Regions from separate parts of the Homo sapiens genome. Here regions 1 and 2 are each linked to region 3. The links are contacts of gene promoters, found by promoter capture Hi-C in blood cells and fetal thymus (Javierre and others, 2016). All regions are on one chromosome and are shown on one strand. The core of a region is centred on a gene start or on the middle of the fragment in contact, and the rest is flanking DNA. Distances in the headings are between cores, read along the strand shown.

Region 1 (3,615 bases), core at 216-2,715, 190 kb after region 3:
CACTAATTCTACACAATCTCTTCTAGAAAAATAAAAGAGAAGGAAAGGGAACCCTATCCGATTCATTTTATGAGGCCAGCATCACCCTGATACCAAAACCAGAGAAAGACAGTACAAAAAAAGAAAACTACAGACCAATATCCTTCATGAATATAGATGCAAAAAAAATTTAACCAAATATTAGCAAATAAAATTCAGCAATGTGAAAAAAAGAATTATACACCATGACCAAGTTTTGTTTTTTCCAGGGATGCAGGATTGGTTTATGTTTGAAAATCAAACATTGAATTCACCATGTTAGCAGGCTAAATAAGAAAAATCCCATGATCATATCAATTGGTGCAGAAAAAAGCATTTGGCTAAGCTTTACATCCATTCATGATAAAAACTCCCAGAAAACTAGGTAGAGAGTGAAAACTACCTCAATGTAATAAGAACATCTACAAAAAGCCTATAGTTAATGTTTTACTTAATGGTGAAAGACTGAATCTTCCCCCTTGCAGGATACAGTAGCAACATATAAAAATCAATTATATTTCTGTATACTAGCAATGAACAATTTAATCAAAATAAAAATACAATTTAAAATCACTCAAAAAATGAAATATTTAGATGTAAATTTAACAAAATATGTACAGGACCTATTAAATGAAAACCACAAGACACTGATGAAAGAAATCAAAGATGTAAATAAATAGAGATTTGCTATGTTTACAAATTGGAAGACACAACGTAATAAAGATACCAGTTCTCCTCAAACTGATACATAGACTTAACCCAATTCATATCACAATCCGAACAAGATTCTTTGTAGATACAGACAAGAAAATTTTAAAATTTATATTTTACAATATAAATTTTCTAAAAGACAAAGGAACAAGACTAGCTAAAACAATTTTGGAAAATAATAACTTGGAGAAATCACTCTTTTCTGTTTCAATAGTATGCGGTATTGCTGATGAGATACACACATAGATCAATGGAACACAGGAAACCCTTAAATAGAGTTTTTGCACTTTTTAAATTTAGCATAATCTTTTTTTTTTTTTTTGAGACGGAGTCTCGCTCTGTCACCCAGGCTGGAGTGCAGTGGCGCTATCTCAGCTCACTGCAAGCCCCGCCTCCCGAGTTCACACCATTCTCCTGCCTCAGCCTCAGGAGTAGCTGGGACTACAGGCGCCTGCCACCACACCCAGCTAATTTTTTGTATTTTTAGTAGAGACGGGGTTTCGTCATGTTAGCCAGGATGGTCTCGATCTCCTGACCTCATGGTCTGCCCACCTCAGCCTCCCAAAGTGCTGGGATTACAGGCATGAGCCACCGTGCCTGGCCAATTTAGCATGATATTCTTAAAGTTCATCCACATTGTAGCAGGTGTTAGTATTTCATTCCTTTTTTTTTTTTTTTTTAAGAGTTAGGGTTGGCCGGGCGTGGTGGCTCACGCCTGTAATTCTACCACTTTGGGAGGCCAAGGCAGGCAGATCACAAGGTCAGGAGATCGAGACCATCCTGGCTAACACGGTGAAACCCCATCTCTACTAAAAATACAAAAACAAAATTAGCCAGACGTGGTGGCGGGCACCTGTAGTCCCAGCTACCAGGGAGGCTGAGGCAGGAGAATGTTGTGAACCCGGGAGGCGGAGCTTGCAGTGAGCTGAGATCATACCACTGCACTCCAGCCTGGGTGACAGAGCAAGACTGTCTCAAAAAAAAAAAAAAAAATTGTTGGGGTTTCACTCTGTCGCCCAGGCTGGAGTGCAGTGGTGCAGTCATGGCTCACTGCAGCCTCAAACTCCTGGGCTCAAGAGATTCTCCTGGTCGGGCACAGTGGCTCATGCCTGTAATCCCAGCACTTTGGGAGGCCAAGGCAGGTGGATCACTTGACCTCAGGAGTTCCAGACCAGCCTGGCCAACATGGTGAAACCCCGTCTCTACTAAAAATACAAAAATTAGCTGGGCGTGGTGGTGCACATCTGTAATCCCAGCTATTTGGGAGGCTGAGGCAGGAGAATCCCTTGAACCTGGGAGGCAGAGGTTGCAATGAGCTGAGATCTTGTCATTGCACTCCATCCAGCCTAGGCGACAGAGCAAGACTCCATCTCAAAAAAAAAAAAAAAAAATGGAGATTCTCCTGCCTCAGCCTCCTGAGTAGCTGGGACCACAGGTGCATGCCACCACAAACTGTTAAGTTTAAATTTTTTTTTAGAGACAGAGTATCACTATGTTGCCCAGGCTGGTCTGGAACTCCTGGCTTCAAGCAGTTCTCCCACCTTGACCTATCAAAATGCTGGGATTACAGGCGTGAGCGATTGTGCCCAGCTCAGCTCATTCCTTTTTTATTGCTGAATAGTGGTCCATTATATGGATATACTACATTTTAGTTAATGATAGACATTTGGATTGTTTTCATTTAATGTATAAGTAACATGCTATAAATACTCATGTACAAGTTTTTGTATGGATATGTTTTTGTATTTCTTGGGTATATTATGCATATATGAGTGGAAGTGCTAGGTCATAGGATAACTCTGCATTTATTTAGCATTTTAAGAAACTACCAAGCTTTGATTCAAAGTGGCTGCACCATTTTACATTCACACCAGCAGTGCATGTGGGTTCTAATTTCTCTACATCCAGAATCTGTGTTTTTTATCTTTAACCATTTAGTTCCTAGCATATAAATATTTCTTAAAAGTAAATGTTTAAATTTAAAGAATGAAGTCAATAGGAAAATAAACAAATGAACTGAGGTCAGATTAGTTTGTTGGGTCTTTTTTTTTTTTTTTTTTTTTTTTTGAGACAGGGTCACACTCTGTAACCCAGGCTGGAGTGCAGTGGCACCATCACAGCTCACTATAGCCTTGACTTGGCCTGGGCTCACTGATTCTCCCACCTCAGCTTCCCGAGTAGCTGAGACTACAGGCGCAAGCCACCATGCCTGGGTAATTTTTATATTTTTATATTTTTATATTATATTTTACCATGTTATCGAAGCTGAGCTTGAACTCCTGGATTCAAGCGATCTGCCCCTCAGCCTCCCAAAATACTGGGATTACAGGGGTGTGCCACCACGCCTAGCCTGAAGCCCAGATTTGTATCATTTGCCTGTTTCTGTGGTATAAATACTCCCACCACCATGACATAACAAGATAAGGTGGTGGAGTATACATATATATAGGGGAGAGTTATGGAAGATTTTCTCCCCGTGGCAGAGTAATTATCTGGAGCCATATTACATATACAATGGGGAAGTGATAAAAGACCTCACAGTTTTTTAAAGCTTTATGTCTAAAAGCAGGGTGAAAACATTTTACAGTTGTTCAACATTTTGCATTCTCATTAGTAGAGGAAGACTGCCTTTTTTCTTTTTTGAAAAAATACTTCAGTGATACTTTTGTGCCCCTTTCCCACAGCTTGCCCACAAAAAATGACAAAATTCAAGAATGAAGTTTGGGGGAATAAGAGGCTAAACTGTTTTCAAATTAGTGTAACACTTTGCCTTCATTGTGGGCAGAATTGCACCTATCTGAATTTATGATGGTGTGATCTGGGTTTTCAGTAAATTACTTAAAAAAAAAATTTTCCCTCTCACTGAGCCCAGAGAATGAAATGGAG
Region 2 (3,812 bases), core at 774-3,273, 240 kb after region 3:
AATCTTTCAGGTGGTATCAGCAGCATTTTATTGCAAAGTCCAATAACAGTACTTGGTAGCTACATGCCTAAAGATAACTGCAGTCTACAAAGCAGTTAAGATGCCTTCCTTCCAGAGTTTATTGAAATCTCACAGCAGCCTCAGGAAACAGTTGACAACCAATTAAGAACACAGTACCCCCACCCCCAAGTATAAAAGGGGTCACATTTCTCCTGTCAAAACATCTTTTCTGATTACATAACAAAGCAGGCAATGAGAAGTCAAATAGAGCTTTTCTTTAAGTTTTCTTTTCTTCCCCCCAATGAAATTGTGCTTGTTAACCAACTTTGGTGGCAGTTTGATTGGTACCTGGGGTTAACTTGCCTGCTTTGTTACTTGGCTGGCTTGCTTCTCTGTAAAGTGCCGGTGCTGGCTGATTCTGTGAAATAGCTCTCCCCCTTCCATCATCTCCATTACAATTAAGAGTCGGGCCCTGTTTGAAAGCATTTGATTTTGTTAAGTTAAAAAAAAAAAAAAGAAAAAGAAACAAAAAACCCTGAAACATTAAGAAGCTGACCTAAAGATACTGCATCTACAAAGTGTGTAACAACTTCCTAAGTCCAGGGTAACACAGTTACTAAGAGCAAAAATTCTCATGTTCTGAAAAAAAAAATTTTAATGTGATTTTTGGCTACCATTCTTTCATATATGCTTCCAGCTTCCATCCAAATGCTTTCACCAACAGAGCACAGTTGTGAAAAATAAGCGTTTTTTTCCCATTTGTTTGATTTCCCATTTGTTTTTAAAATTCTATCTTCTTTTTCCATCTGGAAAATTCCTACCCTTCCTTCAAGTCCTAGCTTCCACACAGCCTTTGTGAGACACCTCTCCTCCCAGACTATAGTTAGCAGCTCCTCTCCTTTGTAAGCTTAGAATATTTTAGGGATGCCTGTCCTTAGTGCCTATTGCACTGCTATGATGATGGGTTTACATCTCAGTCTTCCCCAAAAAAACCATACCTTATTTAATTTTGAATTTTAACAAAGAGACTTAGAATGCCACCCAATATGCTTGCCAAACATTTGGTAACTAAAAGAATAATGTTGATTTCTTTCTTTAAAAGGAAAGTTAGACTAAGCAATAATAAAGGCTTTTTGTTTTATCAGCCTCTAAGACTCTGCCTAGAATAATATTTGGGCCCCTTTCACTGATTTGAAATAGAATCTGTTTAAATTCTACATTAAATGCTTTCTTGAAATGAGAAAGTAATCAGAATCATCAGGGGATGTGAAGAGTGGTAGGGGCATAGATGAAATTAGACTGGCCACAAGAGGATTACTGTTGAGGATGGATCATGAGAACTTGAGGATTCATTACATAATTCTGTCTGCTTTTACAAATGCTTGACATTTTCCAAATTACAAAAAGGGAGATGGAGGGGGAGAAGGAAGGGCAGAGGAAGCGAGGGTAGGAGGAAGAAGGAGAGGGAAGGGGAGGGAGCACATAAAAGAGAGGACAGCTCCACTACACATTGGCCTACATGTGGGCATTTGATGATGACACTGTGTAGTCTTACCTAGGGCTGGACTCATGGGGAAACTGGACACTGTTAGCAAACACTTCAATAATCTGAACTATGTTTGGGTGTGTGGCACACATCATGTGCAGACGTACCTTAAAGAGAACAGAGGAAATGTATCAATAGGTAGGGGATACCAACATTTTCTCTCCAAAAACTGACCATACTAGGTACAAGCTAATTACAATAAAAACTTTATCACTTAGAATGATGTAAAAACCCAGTGTTTTCAAAGATTATCTCCTTAATGCTTTTTCCATGAATAAAAACTCACCAACAGATTTACTTCCTACTGTTCCATTTATTTGCAAATGAAAATCTGGCAAACAATTCATTTCATTTTAGAAATTATTTGCATTTCTTTATGCAAAAGAAGTCCTTCATTGCACATGTTATTAGAATGTCATTACCATATCCAGATAGTTTAAAACCAATGTATAACCAGGGGCAGTGGCTCACACCTGTAATCCCAACACTTTGGGAGGCCAAAGTGGATCACTTGAGCCCAGGAGTTTGAGACCAGCCTGGGCAACATGCAAAACCCCATGTCTACAAAAAATACAAACAAAATTAGCCAGGCATGGTGGCAAATGCCTGTGGTCCCAGCTACTCAGGAGGCTGAGGTAGAAGGATCACTTGAGCTTAAGGAGGTCAAGGCTGCAGTGAGCCATGATCGTGCCACTGCATTCCAGCCTGGGTGACAGAGCAAGACTCGGTTTCAAACAGAAACAAAAACAAACCCAATGTATATTTTTAAAAACTAAAGGCCGGGCACAGTGGCTCACGCCTGTAATCCCAGCACTTTGAGAGGCCGAGGCGGATGGATCACCTGAGGTCAGGAGTTCAAGGCCAACCTGATCAACATGGAGAAACCCTGTCTCTACTAAAAATACAAGATGCGTGGTGGCGCATGCCTGTAATCCCAGCTATTCGGGAGGCTGAGGCAGGAGAATCACTTGAACCCGGGAGGCGGAGGTTGCCGTAAGCCGAGATTGCGCCATCGCACTCCAGCCTGGGCAACAAGAGTGAAACTCTGTCTCAAAAAGAAGAAACAAACTAGAAACATCCTCAGAGTCCTCCTGTAGCATCACTTTTATACACCATTCACCTGACTCTTCCTTGTGCTATTTTATCTCCACCTTTAAGTACCTTCTTCAATAAGCAAAACTGAGGTAAATCTGAATACATGAGGGTACAAGAATCACATTAATTTTAAAAGAACAAGAGGTGGCTGAAAGGAAATGACTCAATGGCCTTTGATATTGACAGATCTAGGACTACTTTACTAAGATAGCATGAATGGGGAAGAGAGGTAAAGTTTGGACATAAAACTTTTTATGCATCACTGTATTCTCTCTAGGAAGCTGCCTTACTTGCAAAAGAACAATTCTTAGGCACTTCAACTATTTAATTAAGTCGAGGCAATAAAGCATACCTCATTTCTAGCTTTTGGACGATCAAGAAGAATTTTCAGCGCAAACCGTTCTTGAGTAGATTTCTTTACACAGACTCTAGATTTGGAGAAAAAAAATCAATCAGAGATCATATATGTTAGAATGAAAATTAATTTAACAAGCTTTTTCTTTGAGATTTGTACTTCTCATCAAGGATATGGCCAGGTGCATCCAGAACAAACTTGCCCCCAAGGGTAGCAGGTGGGGGAAAGAAGCATCTCACCCCTCTGCCCAGCAGCCAATGCTCAGGCCTCAGCTTCTAAGCCATGCTTTTGGGGCTGTGGGTCAATGAAAAAATAATGGCCTCAGCTGGCTATAGGTGACTCTCACAGTGGCCCCACAGTCTCGACACCCTTTTTTTTTTTTTTTTTTTTTTTTGAGACAGAATCTCGCTCTGTGGCCAGGCTGGAGTGCAGTGGCATGATCTCAGCTCACTGCAATCTCTGCCTCCCTGGTTCAAGTGATTCTCCTGCCTCAGCCTCCCGAGTAGCTGGGATTACAGGCACCCACCACCACACCTGGCTAATTTTTGTATCTTTAGGAGAGACGGGGTTTCACCATGTTGGCCAGGATGGTCTCCATCTCCTGACCTCATGATCCGCCTGCCTCAGCCTCCCAAAGTTCTGGGATAACAGGCATGAGCCACCGCGCCTGGCCAGTCTCGACATCTTAAATGACTCTATAAAAAGACCATGCGACTCAGTCACTCTTAACTAATTCCTAAATACATGAGAAAAAGCCTAACATAAAAACCTGTACTTGTTAAATTCAGCCTATTCCTCAAATCTGGCACACCTGAT
Region 3 (4,119 bases), core at 1,424-3,923:
TCTGTTGCCCAGGCTAGAGTGCAACAACATGATCTTGGCTCACTGCAACCTCCACCTCCCGGGTTCAAGCCTCAGCCTCGGGAGTAGCTGGGATTACAGGCACGTGCCACCACGCCTGACTAATTTTTTGTATTTTTAGTAGAGATGGGGTTTCGCCACGTTGCCCAGGCTGGTCTCAAACTCCTGACCTCAGGTGATCCACCCGCCTCGGCCTCACAAAGTGCTGAGATTACAGGCACGACCCACTGCACCCGGCCTATTTATTTATTTATGCAAGAGTCTTGCTCTGTTGCCCATGCTGGAGTGCAATGGCACGATCTTGGCTCACTGCAACCTTTGCCTACCGGGTTCAAGCGATTCTCCTGCCTCAGCCTCCTGAGTAGCCGGGGTTACAGGCTCACACTACCACACCCAGCTAATATTTGTATTTTTAGCAGAGAAGGGGTTTTATCATGTTGGCCAGGCTTGTCTTGAACCCCTGACCTCATGTGATCCACCCACTTTGGCCTGCCAAAGTGGTGGGATTACAGGGGTGAGCCACCAAGCCAGCCTTACCACACTATTTAAAATTACCTCCCTCTCTCACTGCCCCCCTTTCCTGCTTTATTTTTCTCAGTAGCATTTATCACCATGTAATAGGCTATCTACTTATTTATTGTCTGTCTCCCTCACTACAAATAAAAACTCCATTAAGTCTCTGTCTATTTTATTTATTGATGTATCCTCTGTGCCTAAAACAAGAGTGTGTCAAATAATAGGCACTCAATAACTCAGTGTTGTACGAATAAATCTATCTGTAAAAAGAGAGGTAATAATAAGATCTACCTCCCAGGGAAATACGATGACAGTTATGAAAATTAAATGAGAGAATAAATGTAAAGACCTTGCATTTAAATACTCTAGGCAGATACCGAGTAAGTATTCATCTAGGATGCTTCTTTGTTGGCTGAGTCCTGGGAGAAGGGTGTGTGGCAGGCCAGGTCTCACTAACACAGGCCTCCATAACAACTGTTTCAGTACTAACTGAGTGGTTAAGTTACATATTAAAAGCTAAAAAAAAAAAGCCAGTGCCCTTATACAAAGGATGGAATGTAACAAAAGCCCACCAAGAGTTTTGCCTAGGCCTTTCCTTGGCCTTAAAGCATGACAAAATAACGAAAGAATTCCTAACAGGACCCATTTAGGATTAAACAAATTTTATTGGGGGTCTGAAGTAACTCCCCAAACCTCCGTGATTTAGTAGGAGGCAAGATAAGGATAATCACCCCAGCACCTATTGCCATTTAGATTAAGTAAATTTACTGAGGCTTCAAAGGAAAGTCTTCAGGACTCAAACCTTAGTTATAGACTAAAGTGAGTTAATCAATTATTATTATTATTATTTTTTTTTTTTTGAGACGGAGCCTCCCTCGCCCAGGCTGGAGTGCAGTGCCGGGATCTCGGCTCACTGCAAGCTCCGCCTTCCGGGTTCACGCCATTCTCCTGCCTCAGCCTCCCTAGTAGCTGGGACTACAGGCGCCTGTCACTGCGCCCAGCTAATTTTTTGTATTTTTAGTAGAGATGGGGTTTCACCGTGGTCTCGATCTCCTGACCTCGTGATCCGCCCGCCTTGGCCTCCCAAAGTGCTGGGATTACAGGCATGAGCCACCGCGCCCGGCGAGTTAATCACTTATGTCTTTAGATGAATGCACATTTACACGTAGACATATAGCTTAGAAGGTATATAAGCTCTGGAAAGCTTTGTAATTTTAAGTTGGTCTGGTGATAATTTCCAGGCCTTCTCCCTGTAACTGGTTGCAGAAATAAAAACTCGCTTCCTCTCCAGTTCATCTGCATCTCCTTACTGAACCAGGAGAAACAGCAGCCTGACGCTCAGTTTGGTCCAGGAACAGGTGGTGGAGGGCTCTCGAACTTTTTTCTTTTTTTTTTTTTTTTTTTGAGATGGAGTCTCGCTCTGTCGCCCAGGCTGGGGTGCAGTGGCGCGATCTCGGCTTACTGCAAGCTCCGCCTCCTGGGTTCACGCCATTCTCCTGCCTCAGCCTCATGAGTAGCTGGGACTACAGGCGCCCGCCACTACGCCCCGCTAACTTTTTTTGTATTTTTAGTAGAGATGGGGTTTCACCGTGTTAGCCAGGATGGTCTCGATCTCCTGACCTTGTGATCCGCCCGCCTCGGCCTCCCAAAGTGCTGGGATTACAGGCTGAGCCACAGCGCCCGGCTCTCTCGAACTTTTTTGGCAGATTTTTGCTGTTGATCAGCCCCGCTTCCCCAACTTTCCCCTGGGTCTCTCTCCCCCGGGAGTTTCTGGTTCCTCTGCGATTAATCACAGCCAAGTCTAGCTGGTTCTTCAGGACGGAGAATAAATAGGATAAACAGGAGCAGCCGAACCCTAACTTTGAGAGCTTTCTCCCCTCCTCTCCTAACTTCCCAGTCAGTGACTCGGAAGACTTTAACAGCAACAGCTGCCTCCTCTTGCCAGCTTGATCCCACCTGCTAAGTGAAGGAACAGCGTTTAAAGAGGTGGCAATCGGCAAGGGTGGATGCTTCCCTTTCCGCGCAGGCGCGTTCAGTCGCAGCACCGCGACTATCGTGATAGACAAGCGAGATCGACGCTGGCCCTTTAATAGCCCTTTCCCGGGGTCCTGCCCCGCGCGTGCGCACTGTGGTTCTGCGCTTGTCATCATGGCGACGCGGGGCCATGTGCAGGACCCTAACGACAGGCGCCTCCGGCCCATTTACGGTGAGTGTCTTGGACCAGCCCGCTCGCCAGCCCGACGCGCCGAGGGCTGCCGAGGCTGGGGCGAAAGCCCAGGAGGGGTGCTGAGGGCCGGCGCGCGGGCCGGGCAGGCGCAGGGGGGCGGGCCGCGCGGGCCACTAGGCCGCAGCCGCGGGCCTCGCGTAGGCGCCGGCCCAACCTTCCTCAGCCTTGGGGTGGTAGTGGCGCGGTCTGGGCAGCAGCTGGTCGGCAGAGCTGGCCTGCTTGGCAGGCCCCGTGGGACGCGTGGTTCTGCAGACACCTGCGCTACCCGCAGGCTGCATCGTTACCGCCGCTCCTAGGGAGACCGGAGATCTCCCCGAAGGTGGAAGCCGGCTCCGGCACGAGGGTGGGACGCCCTGCCTGAGGGAAGATTCCCTACCAGAGATTTTTTTTTATTTACGGGAATTGGGCCTAGAGGGTTGTCTGACTAGGTGGGCTTCGGTGCATAGGAGAAACTGAGGTCCGGAGTGGGGAAGGGGCTGACGCAAGGTCACCCAGATCGAGTCAGGAGCAGGCCCGAGATTCCAGGCTCCCAATCCAGAGCTGTTGGGTGGAGAAGCAGCTACTCTGGTCACACGTGGGAGGCGGGGGGAGGGGGTCTTGGGCCTAAAATAGCGGTGAAGAGATTGTGATAGCTCGTGTCAGAGGGGCATGCAGAGCTACTGGAGGGCTTCTCCTTTCTGCAGCTTCTCTGTGGTTTTCTCTGCAGCTTTCCTTCCCTGTGCTAAGCAGATCCCTCTCCACAACTCTTACCTCAACCCGCAGACTTGAAGACCTTGATGTCATCTCATCCATTTACCCTGGTAGTGAAAAATCACAGATTTTGAGTTTGGGAGAAACCCTTTTCCAATAACCGAAATGTGTAATTGGATTGGTCCTTTTTGCATTTCCTTTCCTCTTAGATGGTTTTATGGTCTTGGTCTATCTCACTTAATGGTGAGGAAGCTTCAAGGTCAGTGGTTTTTACAAAAGTAGACATCGTATTTATAGACCTCATGTGGATGTTACTAAATTGGAGGCTTCTCTCCAAGGTGGGAATCGTTTTGGGAGCGGGGGGCGGTGGTTAACTTTGTTTCTGGCCACAGTTAGTCCGGCTTTTATTTCATAATTTGTGTGATTTTTTTTTTTACTCTCACATCTCATTTGATTTTAGCAACAATCCTATAGCTAAGGTTTATAGATGACTCATTATGACAGTCACTGGCCTTGGCCTTTTATATGGGTTATCTAATATAATCTTCACCCATTCTCAAGAGGTGGCTACTGTTTTTTCCTGCCCCTGAACCCTTTAACAACAACAACAACAAAAAAAAAAACAGATGAGGAAACTGAGGCTTTATTGTTGTTGTGTAATTTGTCTA

What was found. The method cuts DNA at HindIII sites, captures the fragments that hold promoters and counts their contacts. A CHiCAGO score of 5 or more calls a contact.
Region 1: a fragment that was not itself captured here is called in contact with the fragment with the promoter of NAA25 in region 3 in 3 of 17 cell types (activated CD4 T cells, endothelial precursors and erythroblasts); the score reaches 5.4 in activated CD4 T cells.
Region 2: a contact is called between a fragment that was not itself captured here and the fragment with the promoter of NAA25 in region 3, in 1 of 17 cell types (activated CD4 T cells). The highest score is 6.1, in activated CD4 T cells.

The regions. Positions count from the first base shown.
Region 1 is chr12:111,912,737-111,916,351 of GRCh38, reverse strand. No RefSeq gene overlaps it. Among named protein-coding and RNA genes, the nearest start is that of MAPKAPK5-AS1, 72 kb to the right of the region's middle. The HindIII fragment of the contact is 2,198 bases long and covers 367-2,564 here.
Region 2 is chr12:111,865,413-111,869,224 of GRCh38, reverse strand. It overlaps MAPKAPK5 (MAPK activated protein kinase 5), which reads right to left. Exons shown (of 14, transcript NM_003668.4): 3 at 2,994-3,069; 4 at 1,556-1,653; 5 at 364-472. Among named protein-coding and RNA genes, the nearest start is that of MAPKAPK5-AS1, 24 kb to the right of the region's middle. The HindIII fragment of the contact is 2,227 bases long and covers 910-3,136 here.
Region 3 is chr12:112,107,337-112,111,455 of GRCh38, reverse strand. It overlaps NAA25 (N-alpha-acetyltransferase 25, NatB auxiliary subunit), which reads left to right and starts at 2,673. Exons shown (of 24, transcript NM_024953.4): 1 at 2,673-2,740. The coding sequence starts at 2,683. RefSeq lists silencers at 2,724-2,803, 2,824-2,903. The HindIII fragment of the contact is 1,965 bases long and covers 1,741-3,705 here.